Linked DNA regions of Homo sapiens: region 1 is linked to region 2. Evidence: promoter capture Hi-C in human tissues and cell types (Jung and others, 2019). All regions are on one chromosome and are shown on one strand. The core of a region is centred on a gene start or on the middle of the fragment in contact, and the rest is flanking DNA. Distances in the headings are between cores, read along the strand shown.

Region 1 (7,056 bases), core at 3,431-5,930, 1.0 Mb before region 2:
TATTGAATTGTCTAACTGTAATCCTCAATGTTGGAGGTTGGGCCTGGTGAGAGGTGACTGGGTCATGGGTTGGAGTCTCATGAATGGTTTAGCACCATCCCCTTGCTGCTGTTCTCATGATAGTGAGTGAGTTACGGGAGATCTGGTTGTGTAAAAGTGTGCAGCACTTCGCTGCTGGCTCTCGCTTGCTCCTGCTTTCAGCATGTGCCTGTTCCCCCTTTGCCTTCTGCCATGACTAGAAGCTTCCTGTGGTCTCCCCAGAAGCAGATGCCACTATGCTTCCTGTACAGCCTGAAGAACTGTGAGCCAATTAACCCTTTTTTCTTATAAATTGCCCAGCCTCAAGTATTTCTTTATGGCAATGCAAAAACAGAGTAATCTTTTCTTCAAGATCCTTCCTCACAACTAAGAAGTTGACCCTGCCTTTTCTTTCTTCCATGTATATGGGTTTTCTTTACAGTGCCCTCTAAATTTCAATGATTGGTTTATACTTCACTCTTCCTGGCTAAACTGTATTTAGATTTTAAAAATCACTCTGCTTTACTTAGTATTAGAACTCTAATGCTCTATAGCAGTCATGTACCTGGAACCTAGTAGTTGCTCATGAAAATGTATGTTCAGTTTTATGTTGAATTTGTGTTACTGAAAACCATCTATCAGAGTATGGATTACACTTTAGGTCAGGGGTGTCCAATCTTTTGGCTTCCCTGGGTCACATTGGAAGAAGAATTGTCTTGGGTCACACATAAAATACACTAACAACAGCCGATGAGCAAAAAGAAAAATAATCGCAAATAAACCCTCATAATCTTTTAAGAAAGTTTACAAATTTGTGTTGGGTCACATTCAAAGCCATGCTGGGCCGCATGCAGCCCACAGGCCGCAGGTTGGACAAGCTTGCTTTAGATATTCACTTAGCACATGTTAATGATGGAGTAAATAAAATTGATCTTCCAACTTGCAATTTTCTAGCATCCTCATGAAATTAAAATTCCATTTCGCTTACCAATACCTGTCTCTATTATCTAAAAACTATCCATCAGAGGGTAACTAATTAATGCACTAATTTTTCTCTGCTGAGGCATTGGCACTGACGTTTTAGTAATGCCATGTACTTTTCCCATTTGTAATTTGTAAAATATTCTCTTATGATCACCATGTATTTTGTAAATAATAAAATAGTATTTGATTATATACATAATCAATGATAATAATGATTTATATATATATAGTATCATATATACGTCATTTAACAAACCATTGTTATGGTTTAAATTATGTTGCCCAAAAAGTTGTTGAAGTGCTTTCTCTCAGTAAATGTGACCTTAATTGGATATGGTATCCTAGCAGATGAAATCATTTGGGTGGTCCCTAATCAATACGACTGAGTCTTTATAAAAAGGGGAAATTTAGACACAGACATAGACACACACACAGGGAGAATCCTATGTGAGCATGAAGGAAGATACCAGAAAATGCATCTATAATCCAAAAAATGCCAAAATTTCCAGAAAACTACCAGAAATTAGGAAATGGGCATAAACAGATTATCCCTCACATCCCTCAGCAGAAACCAACCTTGCTGACACTTTGATGGTGCATGTCTAGCCTCTAGAACTATGAGAACGTTAATTTCTGCTGTTTAAGCCATCCAGTTTTTGGTGAGCTTTGTAGCGTTTTCATAGAGCTTTGTTACACCAGCTCTACAAAACTAATACACCCATAAATATTGCTAAAGATAAATATTCTCAGAGCCGCCTATCATTTGGACAATATATCAACAACTAGAATGACTGACGTGTGAATAGTATCTTTTGAAAGAAATCCTAAAATTCACCTTCATTGAGAACTTTCAAAGAGAAGAGAAAAGTCCAATTTGGGGTGCAGTCCTATGCAAAAGCAGCCACCCTAGTGGGGATGACGCCAGGTGGGTTTTTATGATTGGCTTAAACATAGATTGGGATGGCACGAAATAAAGGCAGAGAAAAGGGGATAGAAGATCCTAAACCCTCTAATTATGTTCTTTCATCCTCCCTCACTACGCACCATTTGCTTTTTTATAATGTGATACCTGCCAGAGAGATCATATGGGCAAAGTATTTCTGCTTCTAAATTAGCCCAAAAGTTAAAAAAAAAAAAAGATTCCGGGTTTGCTTTCCTGTGAAGGTATAAGATAAAATGTAAAGAACAAGCACAGTGATGATAGAAAGGTTGGACTCAGATTTTATATTTTTACAAAAGGAATTTTTAAAACACATATTGTACGTGAAGAGATGTAGCAGGGTACTAATAGCGTAGGCCTTTTAAAAATCAATAATTGGTGTTAGTAATAAGAGATGTGCTGACAACCAGCTGTGAAAGTGGCCTCATTCCTGCAGTGCAGGAGGGAAAGAAACCAGCCGGTGATTACTAACTCCAAATATTGCTTGCAGTGAAAGCTTCATTAAAAAAAATTAGTAAAATACCCCTTTTACCTTAAAATATGTGTCCCCATATTGAAAGAGGATCTATATAAAGAGTTCAGAAAAGAACTGCTGCAAACTGTTCAAATCAAGAGTATTTCCCAGTTGGGCCACCGGCCTACATTGTGGAACTTACTCTTTAGTAAAAAGCTCTTCTCCTCCCAATTAAAGAAAAAAAGGTTGGGATGCCCACAGGTCCTTGCAGCATGTTTAGCGTGACTTTTAACCCCTCATTTCACCTTCTGTATATGGCTCTTCTTTATACCACCACCTGATACAGCCACAGAATCTAGTCTCCACTGCAAATTAGGCTGTTAGCATCTCTTTCACAATTTTTAAAAGTCAGTGTCGAAATTCACTGTTGGCCCTTGCTGGTCTTCTATGCATGCTGCCTGTGAAAATCCAGCCATTTATTTTTATTCAAATCAAAGGGAGGCATTTTTGTTATTAAATAAGTTACTCAAAAACAAACAGCAACAGAGTCCACTTCTTACCAGCATATTCCTGCAAGCCTGATATTCTACATGAATTATCTTAATGAGGAAATATATCCAAGCACTGAATAAGGAATCTTAGATTTCCAGCTTTGACTTTTAGCTACAGCTCACTCACACACAACCTTACAGAATCCCTTAAATCTCCAAGAGCCCATTTCTCATTTTCCTCTGTGCTCCCATGGAGCTGATCCAATGGTTTTTAAGGGAGCTCTGAGCTTGGACAAGCTCTGAAGGGCATGGGGCAAGACAAGAAACGGGCCCTGCGCTCCCTGCTTATCGTCTTGGAAAATAGGTATGATAATATCAGCCTCACCAGGGTCCCATTGCAATTAATGTTTGGAAAATGTTTTGAAATCCCAGAGTTAAGAAAGGCAATACCAGCGTCAATTATTTAAGGGTCTTATTTCTAAAGCACTATTCAAATTGTTTTAAGCCACTTTTTCTAAAAATATATGATACAAAGGCAATTATACTACCTGCAAGCATAAATTGATGTGGTGGTTTTATGGTCTTTTGAAAATTGCCTTAGTAGAATATCTCTGTGACCTGGAACATCTAGTTAAATGAGGAATCTGAGTTTTGTAGACTCGCCCAAACACTTAAACGCCAAAGAGATGAATCTATGGGAAGGGTGCTTTTCTTTGTTGATCTTGATTGCAGTTTCTGCACTTTCCAGAAGGTGATGTTGCTTTGCTTGGCTTCGTTTCAGATCTGAGGAGGGAAGCCAAACAAACAGTGGAAAATGAAGGATGAATAAAAAAAGAAAAGAAAAGAACCTTGGCTTAGGAAAGAGAAAACTTTTACAACCAAAGGCATTACAGAAGGTCTTTGAGTTTCAATAACTTTGTAATCTTCATATCCAACCAATTTTTGCTGTATGAGTATTTCTGAGTCGAACATCCTGGAATTAAAGATAGATTCCAAAGTATTTCTAAACAATGTGTAAAACTGGCATTATTAGAAGTCTTTGAGTATATAGACAAGACGGAAAGTTTAAAATAGGGAAACTAAATTGAGAACAAAGATGTTTCTAAAGATAAATCTATTGCTTGAATTTATTATATAACAACATTTTTTAACTACACAGGTTTGCATTTTACTTGGTACAAATATATCGTTGAAGAGTTCACTTACACATCCAAGCTATTACATACAACTGGGAATGGATGCTCAATGCTGTGTACAAGGTAAAATAGGTCTTTAAAAATATGTATATCCGTTAATGCTAAGCTATATATTTTTCAGGTGTCCTTGTAACTTAGTGTTCTTTTTCTTTTTGCTTTATTTGCAGTTTATTTAATATTTGAAAATACTTTTGTATCAATTAGCAAATTAGCAATTTATCTGGGCGGAAAAACCCCATCTTAGTTACTGAGTTACAAAGTGAATTGTTCTGCAGCTGCAAAATCAAGTGCCTCAGCTGAGTTAATGCTTTTCATTTCTTTTGCATGTGTCAGCATTAATGGAGGCAAGCTTCTATGAAGCCTTGCGTGTGAAGATGGTGCTGAGCAGACTAGATTCAATTCTGTTATATTCAATTCTGTTAAATGCTTTTTGCATTTTTTTTTTTTTTTTTTTTGGAATAAGGCACAAAAGGAGACTTCAGGCTGAACTTCAAGCAAAAGTTAATGCTATTCTCTTTTGGGTTCAACCACCCACTTTGCTTAAGGTCACTAGTTGAGGCTAATGCAGCTCAGAGGGGCTGCAGTAAACTTGGCATCTCCTTGATTAGGCTCCCTGCTGATCTAATACACATACTAGTTCACTTGCCAAGTCAAATAACACATTTAGTGAATTGGAAATAAGATTTAAGTGGGCCAGCACAATGCGGCTTGCCCTCTCATCTTTTTACCGAATCCTTCTCTTTGTATGCAAGGCTGTGAAAACTGCTCTTGTTAGAGGACTTAATCTTCATTTTTTTCCTGTAGATTATTTGGAAACAGGTCAATTGAATGTTGGAGCTGCTAACTCCTCCCACTAAAGAAAGAACCCGCTTGTGGCATACTGATTGCATCATTTAAATGAAAAGCTCCTATTATTAAAGATAAAATACTACAATATAAGGGTTTGTTAGAATTAATTTAAAAATCCTGATATTAAATGCAGTACTTTTTTAACAGTGTGTTTATTTCTTTGTCTTATAGATTCTTTTCTAAAGCATGCTTTGTATTAACTACTGGTGAGTAATAGGAGGGGATGATCATATCAGTATATATTCATCTCCTGTGGCTATTCTGCTGCAGTTAATTCTTAAATACAGTAGGTTATAATAGGGTGACATTTCTATAGTGCCTTTCATAAGAGCAATCTAAAGCATGTCATATAATGTTTGACTTTGAACTATTCAGTTTCTTAGTGACACAAATCTCAGGGTAAATTTATGCCTTCATGGTTTGTTTCCTTAAAAAATATGAGTCATTGTATTTGTTATAGTTTGAAATTTATCATAGATTCACCATAGATTATCAAGTTATCCATGCCATAATAATCTGTAACTGTCCTTATCTGTGTGTTAGATGTGCAGGGTTATGATGTGTGTGGACTTTTTACGATCTACTTATCTCTTCTGGTCATATAGATTTATGTGTATCTCTTTTCTGACTAAATCTGAAATCAGAGCTTGCATTCTGAAGAAACAAAACATATCTATGTAAAATCCAAGTACTATTCCCTGACATCTAAAAGTTAGAGAAAAATGATTATAATACCCTCCACCAAAATAAGGAGGTACTCAATTTCAATTGCATTTTTTACAAAATAAAATGTTAAATGTGTGAAATGTATAATGTACCCTGAGATTAAGCTAAGTATCCCCAGAATGATTTTTAGAGTTACAATAAATAGACTATTTCAAGGGACAGTGTTTGATTATCTAAAATTTACATATTTGCAACAGTTGTTTCTGAGTGGAAAGGATTTATTTACTTAGCCAAAGCAAATAGCTTTTCTATGAAATGTGAAATAGGTTATACTGTTTATACTGTGTTTAGTCATTACATTTCATTCCTCAAAATGAGTACCAGATCTCTGTACTGTGTAATGAATATCCTCACAGTTTGTAAAACAATGTTAGTAATAATAATAAAGAATTGATCAATTTAATATTCTAATCTGGACTTCAATTTGAGGTTGTTGTTCTATCCAAAAGCACTTTGTAAATTCTAGAGAACTACACAAATGTGAGATCATTGCTATATTTTTCATCTCCTCTACTATATTTTACCTGTTTCTTTTACTTGTTTTGGACACCAGTAATGTTAAAACTCATCTCTAATAGGAAAAAGCAGAAAAATTGAAAAGATTACAAATGGTAAAATTATGATTAAACATAAAATTATTATGAAAAATGGCAGACTCCTACAATAGTCTGAGTTTTGTTTTTTGTATTGGTAAGAATTACACTTTTTTTTTGTTTTTTTGTTTTGTTTTATTTTGTTTTGGATGCCTTAGCTACAGATAGATGGCATCTAACCTCAAGGTAAGATTTTACTGCAGGAAGGCATTTTTACCTCATTACAGTTTGTCAGTAGAGAAAATATTTGTGGCATATTGATGTTCTACTGGTTAGAAAATATGTTTCCCCAAGCTCATGATTTTTATTCTGTGTTCTTGTAACTACTTAGAGCAACTTTGGGACATTAAGACATCAGTAACAAACACAAATATGTGATTACTGGCTTCAAAGTACGTGTAACAACTACCCTTTTTGAATATCTTTATATCTTCTGTTAATGTTCAGAGATGTTCAAAAGGTACATGACATTTTACACCTGTACAATAAGAATGTTTGGAAGAAATAATTGTGAATGAAAAAATTATTTAAGAGAGAATTTTATGTTTTGGGAAGAAATGACAATTAGTATTTTAGCCATTTCTTTCTCACTAACAAATGTATGCCAAAATACCACCTGTTTAATTCTTAGCATCCAAGCAAAACTATTTTTATTAGCTATATTAGACATATTTTTCCCTTCAGTTTCTTAAGTTTTTTGAGGTAATTATCATAATGTAAGTACAAATAAAAACATAATGTTATGATAAACTTAGGGGATAAAATTATATCTTAAAATTTTATTTACATTTGTTGCCATTTCAGA
Region 2 (6,249 bases), core at 3,405-5,904:
GCCTGGCTGGAGGCCTCGGGTAGGATGCTGAGGCAAGAGCCACAGCGGTCCGAGTCCAAGAACCACGTCCAGACTCAGCTTAAGGTTCCGAGGTGAAAGGCCTGGCCTAGAAGGGAGGGAGAGAGATCTGAAGAAGAGGGGGTGGGTGAAAGAAACGTGGACACTACAACTGCGTTTTCTGCTCCTGCAGCTGAGCGTGCCTGGACAAGTATGTAGGATTTCCCAATTGGGGGATCTAAGTACTCTCGAAAACTATGATCAGTTTTCTATTAGGTACCCTACCCCACAACAACAGATATCATTATTTCCTGGTTGAGTGTGGGTCGCATTAGGCCCAGGACAAGTGTGCCAATTGGGACCAGTATCAAAAGAGAGCCTTGAAGAAAGAAAGAAAGGGCTTCCCAGGAACTAAGCTGACCTCTCAGTGCCTCTAGGGAAGACATTTTTGCTGGAGGCAGGGCTATGAGCACAAGTGGGGCGCCCTGTGGGTGTGCAACCGCGGTCGGGGAGCACAGGCTTCCGAAGAGAAACTGAGCTCTAAGTGCCACTCAGGCCGGACGAGTTCCAGAGGGGGACAGCGCCCTCCTCGAAAAGCCTTGGTTTCTCCCCGCCCCCTCTTGTGACAGAAAGTTGGCAAGGATGCCCCGTAGGAGTGCGAGCCGCTCCCCTCCTCCGAAAAGCCGCGGGCTTCCGCTGCTCCGGGCATCACCACCAACAGCTTCCCACTCCCACCCCTGGGACTAGGACAGGGGACTTCACCCTCCTCCTTCCTTCCGGAGGAGCCCGCGGCTTCGCCTGAGGCCTCGCGGGCCCAACTTCTCCCCACCGCTAGGGTCACGCCGGGTCCCAGGGGCCTCTTTCAAGTTTGAAAGCTCTGTGGGGGCACGGAGAGCCCACAGTAAGGATGGGTGGGCGCCTCTGCTCCCGGGCAGGCTCAGCTGTCATCCCGTCTCGCCTTGGCCCTCACCTACAGGGCCTGACCCCGGGCCAGCCCAGCTAGGCAAGGCCTCCTCGCTTCCGAGACCCCCCAGCCCCCGGGTGCAGTCCCCAGCATCGGCTGCCCCCGCCCCCCGCGCGCCCTCTGACGCAAACGCACGCCCCTGCCCCGCACGGAGGAAAGCGCTCTTGTTGGTTTTAATTGAGCCTCTTCCTTTCAACACACCCCCTCTGTCCCCACCCCTGGGAGGCGACCCCCTCCCCGCCCCCAGCCGGCTGGCAGCGGCGCAGGGAGTCTGGCTCGGCTGCTAGGCTGCGAATCCCGGTGCTCTCTCGCCGCCGCCGCAGGTTGTCTGCTCGGGAGAGCGGCTCGATGTCCCTTTTAATCCGCTGACACTATCGCCCACATCAGACAGGCAGCCATCGATCGCGTTACATTAGGGGATGGCGTTACAAACGGCGTCCGCAGGTGGGCGGCTGCAGCCAAGCTCGCCAGGTTCAGGCCGTAACCAGGCAAGGCGCGGGCACAAGGGCCAGCCGGGCCGGACTCTGCAGCCGGCTCCACCGCGGGTCGCGCTCGGCACCAGCAGGAACAGCCGGGCCGGTGTTAAACGTGCGGGTCCCCGTCCTCCGCCCGGGCATCCGTTTCCCGCCTAGGAGAGAGAGGGAATAGCGGGTGGGGGTGGGAGCAGCCTGTTTTGAATGTGGATTGCTGCTCGCCTGGCACGATCCTCCCCTCCAAGGAGGCGCGGCGGCCGCGATCCTCGCCTTAGCGCTACGGCGAGACAGAGGCCGAGCGAGGGCAACTCCCGAGCAGGCCCCGAAGAAAGTTCTCCTCGTCCCGCCCTGGCTGCCTAGACTCTGCTCTCGGCCTGCGGAGGCCGTGCGAGCCAAGACTGCCTCCCGGCCCTGCCCGTTACCAACCCCAAGTTCAAGAGAAACGACAACCATTATGTTACTTGCCTGGTGAGGCAGGATTTGGCCGAGTCTCGTTTCTGGTGCCCACGACGCACGGTCCAGGGTCCGAGGGCGGCTGGGCCGGCGGACTGGGCATCCAGTGTGCCTGCGGTGCCCTGGCGCTCGCTGTCGCTGGTCTCCCACTCCCTTCGTCTCTCTCCGCGTTCTCCTTCCCTCGCCCTATCTCCCTCTCTCCGCCTGCTGCCTCTGCCCTCGACTCCCTGCCTCTGACTGTATGGGGAGTACGATTTAGAATCTGTACATAGAAAGGTTTTCTTTTCTTTCTTTTCTTTTGGTCTATTTTAATCGTGTTCGTTTCACCTTTTAACTGACCAGAAGACGGGAGCGCGTTTGCGCGTTTATTTGGGCATAGGGACGAGGGCAAGGAGCCCCTGCTACCCCCAGTCGCCTCCTCGCCATCAGCTGCGTACAATGGGCCACCGCTCGCGGAGTGCATTGACAGTTCTCCATTATTCGAGCTGGAGGGGCTGTGGGGCAGGCACGGGAAAACCTTTTATTCTGCTCTTTAAAATCATCGCTCGTCACTAAGCGGTCGCCGACTCCCGACTTGTAGGCTGGAGAGACCAGGAAGCGCAAAACGTCCCCCAAACACGCAGTGCTTCCCAAACCCCTCCCTGGTGAGACTTAAAGTGAGAACGAGTATTAAAAAACAAACCCTACCTCTGTCAATACAGCGTGGCCATTTACTTCCACCTTTACCTGAGGGCGTGTTGGCGCTAGGAATGCTCGAGCTGAGACAAACTTTTACGCCCTCGCGAGTCGAGGGGCGGGCGGGCGAGCGCGGCTCCCACCCCCGGCGGCGGCAGCGGCGGCTTTGTCACTCCGCGCGGCTCCGCGCCCGCCTGAGCCTGCCTAGGGGAGCGATCTCAAAACGAGGGGGGTGCGAGTATGCGATTGGAGAATATGTAACTAATAGAAGTATCATTTTCCCCCAGTACGATCTTTCAAGGAAAAAAAAATCCATTGAAAGAATTTTCAAAGTGCTGTCTTCGTTTGGAGAAAAGGCACAGGCTGCCTGCGGGGAGGGGAGGAGGGACTCGGCTGTGTGCCGCCCGGGAGCGGCTCCCGTCCGCTAGGTGGCAGCCGGAGCCAGCGATTCCTGCAAGCCCCGCCGCGGGACCCGCTCCTCCCGCCTGCCCCTCCTCCCGCGACCAATCACCTTCAGGATTCAGGAATCGGGGTCTCGGTCTCTCTCTCTCTCTCTCTCTCTCTCTCTCTCTCTCTCTCTCTCTCTCTCTCTCTCTCTCTCTCTCCCCCTCTCCCTCTCCCTCTCCCTCTCCTCTCTCCCTCTCCCTCTCCCTCTCCCTCTCCCTCTCCCTCTCCCTCTCCCTCTCGTCTCTCTCTCTCTCTCTCTCCTCTCTCTCTCTCTCTCCTCTCTCTCTCTCTCCTCTCTCCTCTCTCTCTCGGTCTCTCTCTCTCTCTCTGGGTCTCTCTCTCTCTCTCTCTCTCTGGGTCTCTCTCTCTCTCCTCTCTCTCTGGGTCTCTCTCTCTCTCCTCTCTCTCTCTCTCCCCTCTCCTCTCTTCTCTCTCTCTCTCTCTCAATATCTCGCGCGCTCTCCTCTCTCCTCTCTTTCCTTTCCTCTCCTCTCTCTCTGTCTCTCTCTCTCCTCCTCCCCCTTTTCTCTCTCCCTCTCCGCCTCCCCCCCTCTCCATCTTCTCGTTTGTTTGCTCTTTTCCCGGGACTGACTTGGCCACACTAATCTCCCCCCACCCTGCAACAATATGGGGACTTACTACTGTTTTATTAATAATGATTGAAGCATTGTTGGAGTTTGGAACAGCCAGGTGATAAAAAAAAAAAAAAAGAAGAAGGAAAAATTGGATTGATTGGAAAGTTTATTTTTAAAATCATCTTTGGGATAAATAGGAACCCTTGATTCCGATCGAATTTGTGGCAATAGCTGCAAATTCCAGGAGTGTGCTTTGTCATCATTAAACCTTTTAAACCAAGGTATACTTTGGATTAAAAAATAGGGAGATCCTACCCTGTTTCTACTTGTTTCTAAAAAGGATATAAAATGAGCAGAATCCAGACTTGGATTGTGCTTATATGTGAGAGAAGAAAACAATCCAAATCCAGTATATTTCACAAATCATTAAAATGGTGGGGGTTTCATTCCCATTAAAAATTTTTCCAAACATTTTCAATGACACTCTCTTCACGCTCATAAAATCTAATTTTAAAAACTTTTCAGAAGAAATCAAAATAATTTCCCTCTAATTCTCCTTTTGCCCATCGCTAGGCGTTCTCCCCCTCGTCATCCCTTCCCCCTCTGGGGTGTGAGCGTAAGTGTGTGTGTGTGTATGTGTGTGTGTGTGTGACCATAGACGACCCATACTAATCAGGTCTCAGAGTAAATAGCAGCGCAGGGCGATCTCAATGTAAATTGCGCTTGTCAGAAACACACCCCCCTCCCTCACTTTCTCTCCTCCTCCCCACACCATCCCAGTCTGTAGGTAGCTAAGCGGGGGGGGGAGAAAGAAAGCAAAAGAGGAGGGGGGAGGGGCTCTCCAACCAATGGCGTGCAGGAGGCTTGGCTAACCTTAGCCTCCCATTTTCTCTCCCCCCGATTCAGGGCTCTGACCAGTCAGTCGCCTTTGATTATCAGTTGCCAGCAGCCCTTCTCTTGGCTCCTTGACACGAGCTCCATATAAGGCAGCGATCTCCATAGAAACGTGTCAGTTTCAATAGTAGTGTCAAAGTTCACTATATACAGACATTCGCGCAGATCCCCCTTTCGGAAACATTGCTCTGCGAGTCCTCCCGTTTAAACGCATTCAATTTTTGGGTCTCTCTCTCTCTCTCTCTCTCTCTTCTTCTCTTCTCTCTCTCTCTCTCTCTCCTCTCTCTCTCTCCTCTTTCTCCCCCCTCTCTCCCTCCTCTCCTCTCTCTCTCCTCTCTTCTCTGAACCTCTCTTCTCTTTCTCTTTTCTTACATATTCTACTAGTTGTTTTCCCCTTCTTCTTCTCCTTTCTCTCCTTTTTCTCCCTCCTCCTTGTCTCTTTTACTCCATTCCTGCAGAAGAGAGAGGGCTAAACTTAAAGAAAAAAAAAAGGAGGAGGAGGAGGAGGAGGCACCCCCTTCGTATTCTTCTTATCGTTATTTTATACATATATGATTTTTTTTGGAGGGAGGGTGTTGGTTGCCGGCTGAAGAGCACTTATTTAAAATACTAAAAAAAGAACATTTTTGGGCGATCTCCAGGGTTTTTTTAACTAGCTCTGTGTGTTATAGCAGAAGAAGCAGAAGAAGGAGCAAGAAAGAGGAAAAGAAGAGGATTATTTATTCGACCTACTTTGGATGTCTCTCTCGCTTTTCCTTTTTCCTTTTTTTGGCAATTATTTTCTTCTGATTTTTATTTTTTCTATTTCGCTGTGATTTCGTCGCCGGCGTGAATTATCCCGTATTTTTCTCCCCCTTCCGTCACCTCCCGAAAGAAGAAGGCAGCGAGAGCCCGGCGCCACCGGCACAACAAAAAGAGCAAAGTGTGTGATCTTCCTCGCCGGCTGCCTCCCGCTCTCCAGCGCTGCCTTCCTGAATGGCTGGCTGCGTCCGGCCCTGGACCTGGCCCCCCGACACCCGCGCGCCCTGATCGCCGGCGGCAGCCTCGCCCAGCGCCCTGCTCGGCTCACCGCGCTCCCCGCACTCCCGAGCCCGGCGAGGGCTCCCGCCGGGACAGCGGCGGCGCCGCGGGCGGCCCCGGCCTCCGCTCGCGCTCCGGCTGCGGCCCCGACTCCTGCTCGGACTCCGGCCCGGGTCCCGGCTCCTCCAGCGGCGCTCGCCGCAGCAGCTCCGGCGGCAGCTCCAGCGGCGCCTGCAGCCGCGACCTCCTCCTCCTCCGCCGCCGCCGCCGCCTCCGCCCTCGCCGGCTTCCTCTATGTCGGCTCAGCCCGCGCGCTGCGCGTAGCCCGAGCGGCCGGCGGGCGGGCGCCCGGCGCGGGTGAGCGACTGTGTGTGCGAGTGTGTGTGTGCGCGGGGGTGCGGGCGAGGCGGAGGGCGAGTGTGTGCGCGCGCCGTGGCCCATGCCCGCCGCCCCCGGCGCTGCGCCCCGCGCCGCTCCCGGCTGCCGCCTGTGCCATTTCTGATTTTGCAACTTGGGGAAGAAGAAAAAAGCGAGAGAAGGGAGCTTGCTCGCCGGGGGGTGGGGAGGGGGGAAGGAGAGCGCGGCCCCCCCAGGAACGGAGCGCGGGGGGAGCGGGCGAGGGGAGCAGGGGTGTTGGGGGGGGAGCCTGAGAGCCTGGGGGGGCTGCAAAAAGAGAGAAAGAAAACAGCAGGAACCACAACAAAACGCCAGCAGGGCGGGCGGGCGCGCAGCAGCAGCGGGGCGGCCGAGG

Evidence for each region. Contacts are between HindIII fragments. The study calls those that stand out against the background at their distance.
Region 1: a contact is called between a fragment that was not itself captured here and the fragment with the promoter of NR2F1 in region 2, in 3 of the 25 tissues and cell types used here (IMR-90 fibroblasts, aorta and mesenchymal stem cells).

Annotation. Positions count from the first base shown.
Region 1 is chr5:92,556,364-92,563,419 of GRCh38, forward strand. It overlaps LOC105379082 (a long non-coding RNA gene), which reads right to left. Exons shown (of 4, transcript NR_188298.1): 3 at 3,436-3,670. Among named protein-coding and RNA genes, the nearest start is that of LINC02058, 380 kb to the right of the region's middle. RefSeq lists an enhancer at 4,327-4,983. The HindIII fragment of the contact is 8,223 bases long and covers 570-7,056 here.
Region 2 is chr5:93,578,568-93,584,816 of GRCh38, forward strand. NR2F1 (nuclear receptor subfamily 2 group F member 1) reads left to right here and starts at 4,655. Exons shown (of 3, transcript NM_005654.6): 1 at 4,655-6,249. It overlaps NR2F1-AS1 (NR2F1 regulatory antisense RNA 1), which reads right to left and starts at 2,652. Exons shown (of 8, transcript NR_186187.1): 1 at 2,575-2,652. RefSeq lists an enhancer at 2,828-2,927 and silencers at 3,048-3,097, 5,705-5,784. The HindIII fragment of the contact is 15,492 bases long and covers 1-6,249 here.